Regions from separate parts of the Homo sapiens genome. Here all the other regions are linked to region 4. Evidence: promoter capture Hi-C in 16 types of primary human blood cells and fetal thymus (Javierre and others, 2016). All regions are on one chromosome and are shown on one strand. Each heading gives the region's core, a stretch centred on a gene start or on the middle of the fragment in contact. The rest is flanking DNA. Distances are from core to core; before and after follow the strand shown. Region 1 has its middle 130 kb from the start of RAI14-DT. Region 2 has its middle 180 kb from the start of RAI14-DT. Region 3 holds the start of RAI14 (retinoic acid induced 14). Region 4 holds the start of RAD1 (RAD1 checkpoint DNA exonuclease).

Region 1 (2,700 bases), core at 97-2,596, 390 kb after region 4:
CAATTTATCTCCCCTTTGGACATAAACATTGATAATCCAGAACTGATGTTGCTGTGACTCCAGTAGCACTTGGTACTCAGCTGTAATATGTCTGTGATCAATGTTTTCATCGATATGTAATGCTTATATGCAACCTTAGAACCACTTCTTGTTTGAAGGTCTTGAGATGATTATTCATTTGAAGAGGTCAATACTTACATGACAATATCTTATATGACAACTAAAATGGTTTATTTTTGCAGTTACCAGATATGACAACTTAAGACAACATAGTCTGATGGTGGCCTGGGGCCAAATCAGAAATATCTGTTGGGACACACTCCTAGGCTATGAGTGACTCATAATCACTTTCACTGGCCTTGCTGTAGGCTCAGCCACATATGACCTGCTATGTCTCAGAGAAACTTCTCTCCTTTCTCTTCCAAAATAAATCTCAAAACACCCAACACTCTATGTAAGCAAAGCTATTCAGAGCTTCGCAACTCTCTAGCATGGCATCAGATCCTGTAGAAAGTTATAGGAGATACCCTGGGGATTGAAGATGCTGCACCACCTCATTACAAAAGCTTGAGTGCATCTGACTCTCTGGGTCTCCCTTGCTAGCACAAACCACTCAAGAAATATGTGGCTATGAAAATCTACGATCAATGCTGGCATCATTATATTTGATTATTTCTTGGTGTGTGAATATATATAAACACTATATGCTGAGTGTTCCCCATCTTAGGCATTTATTTTGTAAAGTGATTATATTTGTATTTCCTTCATCTCTCACCAGGCAGACAAACTCAGTTTTAAATATATATTAAATCAAATGAAGACCTATAAAAAACACATCCATCAGAATAGATTAGCGTCTACAACATTGTGCTGTAACATGGTTTTTTCAGTGTGAATCTTGCTTCGAAAGTAAAATGTTGGAAAGCTTTGTTTAAATCTACCAAGCAGGAAAACCAAATGAATACAAAACAAAATCTCAGCTGGCCAATTGTTTCAGACCCAAGACCTGTTCTATTTATTGTTTTTGTAAGAAATAGTTGCCTGGAACATCATTTCTATGGCAGAAATAGTGTCAAGTTCCTAAGGAGAAGAAGTAGGAGGAAGCTCTAAGTGTAAACACCCAAACAGTGGAAGGAAAACCACACATCACTTACTTTGAAAACAGTAGCTGCTTGGGGCCATGATTTTGACGAATCATAATGAGCACTCACAAATTGATTTAATATTAAAATGCATCCAAGCAGACTTTGAAACTATAATTCTCTGACAGTGGATGGACTGATGAAACTCACCAGGAAGGCCAGTTACTCAGGCCTGCGATGTCTTCGGTTATTGAAGACATGTGATTGCCACCTAGCGGCCAACATTAACTTCACCTGGAAGGTCGAGCAATTCTGCAGCCCACTTTGCCCAATGCATAAGGACAACAGTACCAGTCTTTGTCAGTACTCAATTCAAATTCCTTAACACTTCCTCTTTTATCACATCTCTTTGTTCTGTGTAAGTCACCTGTTTACCATCTCTAAGACCAAACATTTTCCTTCACTCCATGTCATTAGTCCCAGAGAGCCTAAGAACCTATCTGCAAAATTCCCTCCATAGTTCTCATTCCATTTCCTTTTTTTTAAACCACAGTTGTTCTATTGGTAAGAAGAAGGGCTCCTGCCTTCATTTTCTCCACCCAGCTTCTTCCACTTTCTCTCCTCCTATTTCACGTCACAAGACACAAGGGCGTCTTGAGAGAGAGGCTTCTGAAAGAAAGCTTGGTAAGGATAACTGAAAACCTGAGAACAATAGTGTCAGAGGCTTTTGAACCAGAGCAACTCCATCTTGAAGAGGGGCTGGGTGAAATAAGGCTGAGACCTGCTGGGCTACATTCCCAGGCAGTTAGGCATTCTAAGTCACAGGATGAGACAGGAGGTCAGCACAAGGTACAGGTCATAAAGACCTTGCTGATAAAACAGGTTGCAGTAAAGAAGCCGACTAAAACCCACCGAAACCAAGACGGTGGCGAGAGTGACCTCTGGCCATCCTCACTGCTACACTCTCACCAGCGCCATGACAGTTTATAAATGCCATGGCAATGACAGGAAGTTACCCGATAAGGTCTAAAAAGGGGATGCATGAATAATCCACCCCTTGTTTAGCATATCATCAAGAAATAACCATAAAAATGGACAACCAGCAGCCCTCGGGGCTGCTCTGCCTATGGAGTAGCCATTCTTTTATTCCTTCACTTTCCCAATAAACTTGCTTTCACTTTACGGACTTGCCCTGAATTCTTTCTTGCACAAGATTCAAGAACTCTCGCTTGGGGTCTGGATCCAGACCCCTTTCCGGTAACAGCAACACTCCTGTTACTTCACCAAGGAATTATAAGTAAATATTTCTATGTTACCAAGACTGACAAAGTTCAAAAATAATAATGCTGATAATACAGCTGTTTGTGGTGAAAATAAGTGGAAAATGTGTTGGCCAAGCTGGTCTGAACTCCTGACCTCAGGTGATCCACGCCTTGGCCTCCCAAAGTGCTGGGATCACAGGCATGAGCCACCGCACCCAGACCTAGTTTAGTCTTTGTGTTGACAAAGCACAAAGATGAAACTATTTGCCACGCCCCTCCTTCACCACAACTGGACCTGCTCTAACCTCCTCTCTGCCCTGGTCTGAGCCTTGGATCCTATCACCTTGGCTCCCTTG
Region 2 (2,700 bases), core at 98-2,597, 440 kb after region 4:
CTTTACTGTACACGTGGTGACAAAGAAAAGGGAAGATGGAGCCTCCATGTTGAACATACCTGGCTTCCAGGTAGCCCTTTTCTATTGGCATAGCTGCCGGCATTCACCCGTGCAAGCTTCCAGCTTGCTTATCTATGTTCGCAGCTAGATTTTCAGGCTGCTCTTTGTTAGAAAAAAATGCTTTCTTGGGCTGCTTTTTGTTAAAAGGGAAGCCTTGCTGAGGACTTTTTTACCCTCACTATCTGCCTAAATAATTTCTTTCTATCTCCTGTCTCAGCATCTCAGTGGTCCTCATTGAGAACAGGTAACCAGTGCCAGCAGGGGCTCCTAGTTCATTGGTAAAACCCTGAACATTGACACCTTTCATTTCCCTGGGGTTAAATGGAAGAGAGAATTGCCCCAAGAAGGACGGAAGTTTCATTTTCTTTGGCTCCTGAAGTAGTACACAAGCGGATTTATAGAAAACAAAGACCTTTAGTATTTCTTACATCCTAGAATCTGGAGACTTGAGATTCATGCCTATTGCATTATTTCAGAAAAGAGATTTGGTTGTGAACTCTGCTCCAAGACATTGCTTGGTCAAGGAAGCCTAAGTTTTAGCCACCTGGACACGATCTCCATCTAGTGGTCATACTATGTAACAGCACTTGCACACAGCTTTGAGAGGTTTGGTATTCTGTATTTTGCTCTTCTCCGGAGAAATTCAATATAGCAGAAATATAGTACATAATATAATGCAGATATGAGAGATTCTACAGCCTACAAACAGTTCTAAAACGGGCTAGAATTTGGGAGGTGAAGCAACAGGGTAGCATTGTAATTTTATTAAATTTCAGAATAATTTTAGATTTATGTTAAAGTTGTAAAGTGGCCAGGCGCAGTGGCTCACGCCTGTATCCCAGCACTTTGGGAGGCCGAGGCGGGCAGATCACCTGAGGTCAGGAGTTCGAGCCTGGCCAACATGGTGAAACCCCATCTCTACTAAAAATACAATAAATTAACCGGGTGTGGTAGCCCAGGCCTGTAATCCCAGCTACTTGGGAAGCTGAGGCATGAGAATCGCTGGAACCTGGGAGACAGAAGTTGCAGTGAGCCGAGATCATGCCACTCCACTCCAGCCTGGGCAACAGAGTGAGACTCTGTCTCAAAAAAAAATTAATAAATGAATAATAAATAAATAAAGTTATAAAGTGATACAGAGTTCCCATACACACCTCACCCAGGTTCCTCTAGGTTAAAATCTCACATTACCATGATACGTTTGTCAAAACTAAGAGACTAGCATTTCCACATTATTGTCAAAATCCAGACTGTATTTTAATATCACTAGTTTTTCAACTAATGTCCTTTTTCTGTTCCAGGATCCCACTCAGGACAGCACATCTCATTCTGTCCTCATGTTCCCTCAGTTTCCTCTAGTCTGTGAGAGATTTCATGACAGCAGTTTTGAGGAGTAATAGCCAGGTATTTAGCCAGTTTTGAGGAGTAATAGCCAGAATGTCCCTCAATTGTAGATGTGTGGTGTTATTTCTGAGGCCTCCGTTTTGTTCCATTGGTCTACATCTCTGTTTTGGTACCAGTACCAGTTGCTGTTTTGGCTACTGTAGCCTTGTAGTATAGTTTGAAGTCAGGTAGCATGATGCCTCCAGCTTTGTTCTTTTTGCTTAGGATTGTCTTGGCTATACAGGCTCTTTTTTGGTTCCATATGAAGTTTAAAGCAGTTTTATCTAGTTCTGTGAAGAAAGTCAATAGTAGCTTGATGGGAATAGCATTGAATCTATAAATTACTTTGGGCAGTATGGCCATTTTCATTATATTGAGTCTTCCTATCTATGAACATGGAATTCTTTTTCCATTTGTTTGTATTCTCTCTTATTTTCTTGAGCAGTGGTTTGTAGTTCTCCTTGAAGAGGTCCTTCACATCCCTTGTAAGTTGTATTCCTAGGTATTTTATTCTCTTTGAAGCAATTGTGAATGGGAGTTCACTCATGATTTGACTCTCTGTTTGTCTGTTATTGGTGTATAGGAATGCTTGTGATTTTTGCTCATTGATTTTGTATCCTGAGACTTTGCTGAAGTTGTTCATCAGCTTAAGTTTTTAGGCTGAGAAGATGGGGTTTTCTAAATATACAATCATGTCATCTGCAAACGGAGACAATTTGACTTCCTCTCTTCCTATTTGATACGCTTTATTTCTTTCTGTTGACTGATTGCTCTGGCCAGAACTTCCAACACTATGTTGAAAAGGGGTGGTGAGAGAGGGCATCCTTGTCTTGTGCTGGTTTTCAAAGGGAATGCTTCCAGCTTTTGCCCATTCAGTATGATATAGGCTGTGGGTTTGTCATAAATAGCTGTTATTATTTTAAGATGCGTTCCATCAGTGCCTAATTTATTGAGAGTTTTTAGCATGAAGGGGTGTTGAATTTTGTCAAAGGCTTTTTCTGCATCTATTAAGATAATCATGTGTTTTTTGTCATTGGTTCTGTTTATGTGATGGATAATGTTTATTGATTTTCATATGTTGAGCCAGCCTTGCATCCCAGGGATGAAGTCGACTTGATCATGGTGGATAAGCTTTTTGATGTTCTGCTGGATTCGGTTTGCCAGTATTTTATTGAGGATTTTTGCATCGTGTTCATCAGGGATATTGGCCTGAAATTTTCTTTTTTTGTTGTGTCTCTGCCAGGTTTTGATGCTGGC
Region 3 (2,700 bases), core at 41-2,540, 260 kb after region 4:
CGATCATGCGTGAGCTGCGGCGAAGAGAAGCCGCTGGTCCCGAGGCGAGGGGCCTCGAGTCCGCAGATTCCCCTCAACATTTCTGGGAGTAAAGTTGGGCTTAGCTGGGCTCCTGGCAAATAAAGAGGAGCCTGGAAAGACAGCCATGCTCAGGCCCCCGTGAGGCCACTTCGGACCCCTCCACGCTGTGCTGGGCTGCATCTGCCTTAATTCCCCGTCTGTTGCTTCTCCAGGCTCTGAGCCCCCTCCACAAAAGGGGGATGCGAAACTCAAAGGAGTTAGGATGTCAACCCTGCAAACCGCAGAAACTAAACCGACACCAACCTGCCCAAGAAGGCAGCGAAGGTGGTTGAGGACGACACCCCACCCCCCACCCCCCACCAGGCAGGGGTCGCGGGAGATGGCGGGCGCCTTTCTGGTGGCTCCACGTCCTCCTTACTCCCGAAGTCCCGGCGGCCCCGAGTCTGCCCCAACTCCAGCATCCGTTCTCCCCGAGCTGCGGCGGGGAAAACAAGGTAGGGGGCAGGGGCAGGCCCAGAGGGGTCTCGCCCCCGCCCTTGGGCCGGCCGAGGGGCTCCCTGGAGTCAGAGGAGGAACAATAGCGGACCCCGCGTCCTGGGAGCCACCCGGAGTCTCCCGCTCGCACCTCCCTCCCCACCTCCTCCAAGTTCAGCCGGGAGGCGGATTGGGCTCAGCAGCACCGACGCGGGGGCAGCGAGGCGCCGCGCGGGGCGAAACAGGTGGGACCCGGCGCAGACTCCAGGGTGCATCTCCGGGTCTGCTCATTCATTCCCACCCGCGCTCCCTCCGCCGCGGCCCCTGCCCCGCGCCCCGCCCCAGCCGGCCTGCGAGTCGCGGAGGACCCGGGAAGAACCCTTCTCCTAACTTGGCCGGGTCTTCCCGCTCTACCCTCATCTCCACCTTCCTCTCCTTCCTCTTGTCCCCAGATCTGCTCTCCGCAGACAGTGGGCTGCCGGCGGTGGACCAGGGAGAGGTGGCGGGACCCCGGCTGCAGCCCGCTCAGCCGCTCCGCCCGGGCGCCGTCCCCAGCGCCTCCCGCGCCCGAGCTCCAGACACAAAGGCGGGGACACGAGCCCGGGACCCCGCGCCGGGAGCCTCCCAACTCCGTGCCGCGCACTCACCCCATCGAGGCGGCGGCGGCGCTCCCCGGACCCAGCTGGCTGCTCCACCCCGCCCGCCGCTTCCCCAGGAAAACGCGGCCGCCGGGCTCGCTTCCTGCTCGGCTTCCTGCGCCGCAGTCCCTCCTCCTCCCCCGCTGCGGGGGTCAGTGGGCGCCGAGCTCCCGGGCTAGGCCGGCGGGGCGGGGGCAGCGGCAGCACCACCACGTGGCCGCCGGGCGCCGGCCCCCGCCGACCTGGATCCAGTGGGAGCGGGAAGGGAGGCGCTAACCATTCCCCTCCCATTCCACCCCTCGCGGCCCCAAATTCCGCGAGTCAGGTGACCCGGCCCCGGGCTCTGGCCGGGACCTGCGGGGGGTGCTCTCCGCCCTCCAGCCCCCGGCGCATCTCCCCGGCCCGCGCGTCCCGGCTGTTCGTGGCTTGCTTTTAGTCTCCAGGGATCGTGGGACCCTTCTCCGCGGATCTGTTTCATCCTCTTAACCTGAAGTTAGTGGAAGCCCCCCACGCTCTGACCCCTGGGTTTAGGACGGATGAGATCCCAGATACTGTTTATTTCTGATTAACTTCCAAAGTCGTTTGTGGTAGTGGCGAGTGTTTCAAAGTCACGGATCCAAGCCCCTTCTGACCAGAATCTAAAAGGTTGTTTTCCAAAATCATTGAACAGAAAGTAAAGTAGAATGTGCTCACGTTCTCCGGACTGAACCAATTGGTTGAAGTGACTGTTTTCTAGCACTCATTGGGTGGCAAGGCAAGACTACCACCGTTCAGTGTTGTTCTGCTCAGGAGTTAGAAAGGAGAAACCTACAGCCTGAACTGACAGGCGAGATTGCGCATGGGAACGCCTTCAAAATAGTGTGTGAGAAGCCACGGGGTACAGGCTCACTGCCCCAGGTCCCCGACAGCTTCTCTCCCTATCCCAGCCCACTAAGGCCCGACCTTTCAATTACGATGGACTCCACCATTAATTCCAAGGATTTCAAAGCTCTCTATCTACCCACTCATCTAATTTGGGCTGGCTTTTCCATGCATTCTAGTCATGCTAACCAGCTGTGACTTCAGTTCTGTTCACCTAAGCTCCTCCCTTCTCCTCGTTAGCTCTGCCTCCTTTGCTCAGGGAAGAAAGCTTTCTAGAATAAATAACGTATTGAGTTCTTTCTGGGATCTACTGTAAGTCAATTGAACTTAAGAGGGAAAAAAGGTCGATTCCAACAAAATTGAAATTCACCCTAACAGCTCAGTTTATAACGTGTCAGCTACATACTAATATTTATATGGCAGATATTACCTGTTCCCTCCCCCCGCCCCATCCCCCTTTCCTTCCTCCCTCTCCCTACTAGGGAAGAGCCTATCTCCCCTTTAACAGTTGAACTTGACAAACAAGCATCAAAAGCCTTGTAACTAGGTGCAGGGTCTTCACTTCCTACAGCAAAAGTTCCTTAGCCAAGTGAGGAACAGCTAAAGCAAGATGTACACTCCTCTTCCTGTCCTTTATCCCTCTCAAACAAAGTCACACTGTAAAAGAAACATGAACTGACCAACATTCTTTTGGTTTAATGCTGGC
Region 4 (2,700 bases), core at 188-2,687:
ACACTAACATTTACTGGAAGTGTACAAGTCCAGCTTATTTTTCATAAAAAGTAAATATTCCCTCCCCCTGCCCCCCAATCTGCAGGTCAGAAAAGAGCACAGAATGTTGCTGTTAATAACGGGGCTAGAATTTACACTTATCTTTCATTCCACAGAGCTCACTTCTTTCTTAGAGCTTGCCATCACACCACACGGGGTCATTTACTTATCACCTACTCCGCGCTAGAGTACTATGCTAAGTGCGGAGGACGCAAAAATTAATGTCAAAGATAATCCTTGTTCACAGTATTCTGTCTAGCTTAAGAAGAGTTCTTAGTTGAATGAAAGCTAATTCTAACAACTTGTGTGCACTTCTTTTGAATAAAAACCATCAACTTATTTGAATTCTTAAGTTTCCTCCTAAACTCCAACATTTCAGGAGGAAGAGGTCACATTCTAGTCATCTTTGCAATCTCAAACCCAAAGGAAGCCTAACTTGGTACAGTGCATGGCACATTCAATGTCTGTTGAATACAAGTAAAGCTCATACTACCTAGTCTATTTTTCAGTATCTCTTGAGTTAATGACCTGGTTAACAAGTCAGAGTCACAGTCCCAAGGGCAACAACTTTTTAAAGGCTCCCCTAACGTACTTCAGGATCCCTGACTGAGAGTGGCTGACTATGGCAGTATATGGGCATACTAATCACTGGAGAAATAATAGCGAGAAATAACCAAGGAAAAGCACTACTCTCCAAAAACATTAAAAAAAAAAAACAACTGAACAACTAGTAAGAAAGAACGCTGGATCTGAGCACCCTGTAAGTCGCTTCCCCGTGGGCCGGGTAAAGGTTTTAAAACCCGCCGCCTCCAGGAAGACGGCCACGTGCACAAGGATTAGCTGCAAACTCCGTGCCCAGTCTGGCCGGGAGAATTGCTAAAACCGACCTACCGTTAACACCCGGGCTACTCTGAAATTAAGCAAGGCTGTAGTCAAGTAAGTAACCCAAGAAAAGGCGCACAGAGCCGCCGCCGCAGGTGTAGCCCGGGGACATCCCCTCCTACCTTGCAAACGGGGCCTGGGATCCGGTCCCTCTCTTCTTCCTCCACCTCCTCTGCTGTGGCGTGCCGCTTAGCTGGCGGCTCCGCATCTATTTCGTTTCTTTTTGGCTTCTTCGCCTGAACTGCAAAGCCTCCACGCCGTTTCCTCTTGGTTGCCGCCATCTTGCCTCGCCGCCCGCGCTCTTGGCCTCCTTTCCGGCGCTGCCGCTCGCTCCTATTTCCGATCTCTATGGTTCGGCGGCTCTAAGCGCTCAGCTCCGCGGTCGTCCTCCAGGTCTGTGCCGCCTCCTTCCGGTCTCGGTGGCGCGGCACGCGCGGCTCTCTAGGCCTCCTTCAGCTCTGTGGTGACGGTGGCCGAGGTGGAGGGCCGGTCTGAAGAGTGGCGGGACTGGCTTCACTTCCTCCGCGGTTCCTCGGAGCCGCCTCGCTCCTCTTCAGGGACTTTGCTGAGAAGGGCTCTCGGGCGTCCAGACCCCACCGCAAAGGTAGGGTTTCCGCACTCGGGGACCCCGAGACTAGTAAGCGATGCTGTCCCGCGGGCGGGCTGGTGAATGGGGTTGTCTGGGACTCTTGGAGGATTATCTGGACACTCCGGGCCCGCCCCGCCATCGCCTGTTTTGTTGGAGGCGGGGCTGGTGGCGCGGGCTGCACAAAACCGACTCCCCGCGGATTTGTAGCTCCTGTTTGGCCGGGAGATACCGTGTCAGTTGCGTGTCTTCATTCTTCACAACTTTTCACGTTATTGTCCTCTTACGGAGACGAGGAAACCGTAGCTTAGATAATTTTCCTCCAGAATTACAAAGATAGTTAAGTGACATAGGTGGGGTTCGGCCTGGTCAGCCGTGTTCAGCCTCCCAGCCCCTTTCCACCTCTCAGCGCAGGTGGAGCTCGCCGGACCTCGCCAGCACTGATGGGAGTTTTACTGTCTAATCCCTTCAGGTGTTTGGCGATCCGCCGAGAAGTTGTTGGCCCCAGGAGCATCCCTCGGGGCCGAATGCGCAGTGGACGATGCCCCTTCTGACCCAACAGATCCAAGACGAGGATGATCAGTACAGCCTTGTGGCCAGCCTTGACAACGTTAGGAATCTCTCCACTATCTTGAAAGCTATTCATTTCCGAGAACATGCCACGTGTTTCGCAACTAAAAATGGTATCAAAGTAACAGTGGAAAATGCAAAGTGTGTGCAAGCAAATGCTTTTATTCAGGTATGGAAGTAGGCGCCTTTAAGCCTGTGCCATAGATACTCTAAATGTAATTTAATGAAATCGGAAGGTTTCAGTAGACAAAATAACTTAATAGTCATAATAACTTGTCAATAGTCATAATAAATAACTTAATAAATAAATAATAGTCTTAAGTTAGAGAACAAAACGTCATTACTTGAATTTTTTTTCTCTCCCGGTAACAAATTCTTTTCCCATCTTGTTTTACAGAGATAATGGTTAGTAATGACTAAAGTTTATTAAACTAGGCTATTGGCTAGGCTACAGTCTTCTTATTGTTTAACTTATTTAATCTTAACAATAGTCCTGTAAGGTAGGTTCTGTTATTATTCCCGTTTTATATATGTGGAAACGAGGCACAATTTTAAGTGATTTGCCAACAGTCCCACAGCTGGTAAGTGGCTGAATTGGGATAAGAACGCTGAATATTTGTTTC

Evidence for each region. Contacts are between HindIII fragments. The CHiCAGO score rates a contact against its expected background, and 5 or more counts as called.
Region 1: a fragment that was not itself captured here is called in contact with the fragment with the promoter of RAD1 in region 4 in 7 of 17 cell types (erythroblasts, total B cells, M1 macrophages and 4 more); the score reaches 10.7 in erythroblasts.
Region 2: a contact is called between a fragment that was not itself captured here and the fragment with the promoter of RAD1 in region 4, in 1 of 17 cell types (M2 macrophages). The highest score is 5.0, in M2 macrophages.
Region 3: a contact is called between the fragment with the promoter of RAI14 here and the fragment with the promoter of RAD1 in region 4, in 2 of 17 cell types (M2 macrophages and total B cells). The highest score is 6.1, in M2 macrophages.

What each region holds. Positions count from the first base shown.
Region 1 is chr5:34,521,968-34,524,667 of GRCh38, reverse strand. No RefSeq gene overlaps it. Among named protein-coding and RNA genes, the nearest start is that of RAI14-DT, 130 kb to the left of the region's middle. RefSeq lists an enhancer at 1,114-1,637. The HindIII fragment of the contact is 837 bases long and covers 928-1,764 here.
Region 2 is chr5:34,472,609-34,475,308 of GRCh38, reverse strand. No RefSeq gene overlaps it. Among named protein-coding and RNA genes, the nearest start is that of RAI14-DT, 180 kb to the left of the region's middle. The HindIII fragment of the contact is 2,458 bases long and covers 119-2,576 here.
Region 3 is chr5:34,654,918-34,657,617 of GRCh38, reverse strand. It overlaps RAI14 (retinoic acid induced 14), which reads right to left and starts at 1,290. Exons shown (of 18, transcript NM_015577.3): 1 at 1,143-1,290. RAI14-DT (RAI14 divergent transcript) reads left to right here and starts at 1,445. Exons shown (of 3, transcript NR_183264.1): 1 at 1,445-1,625. RefSeq lists a silencer at 1,283-1,332. The HindIII fragment of the contact is 8,769 bases long and covers 1-2,264 here.
Region 4 is chr5:34,914,241-34,916,940 of GRCh38, reverse strand. RAD1 (RAD1 checkpoint DNA exonuclease) reads left to right here and starts at 1,437. Exons shown (of 6, transcript NM_002853.4): 1 at 1,437-1,525; 2 at 1,980-2,246. The coding sequence starts at 2,049. It overlaps BRIX1 (biogenesis of ribosomes BRX1), which reads right to left and starts at 1,230. Exons shown (of 10, transcript NM_018321.4): 1 at 1,044-1,230. The coding sequence starts at 1,202. It also overlaps a transcript of TTC23L not described here. RefSeq lists enhancers at 642-1,247, 822-1,721, 1,742-1,801, 1,248-1,853. The HindIII fragment of the contact is 14,569 bases long and covers 1-2,700 here.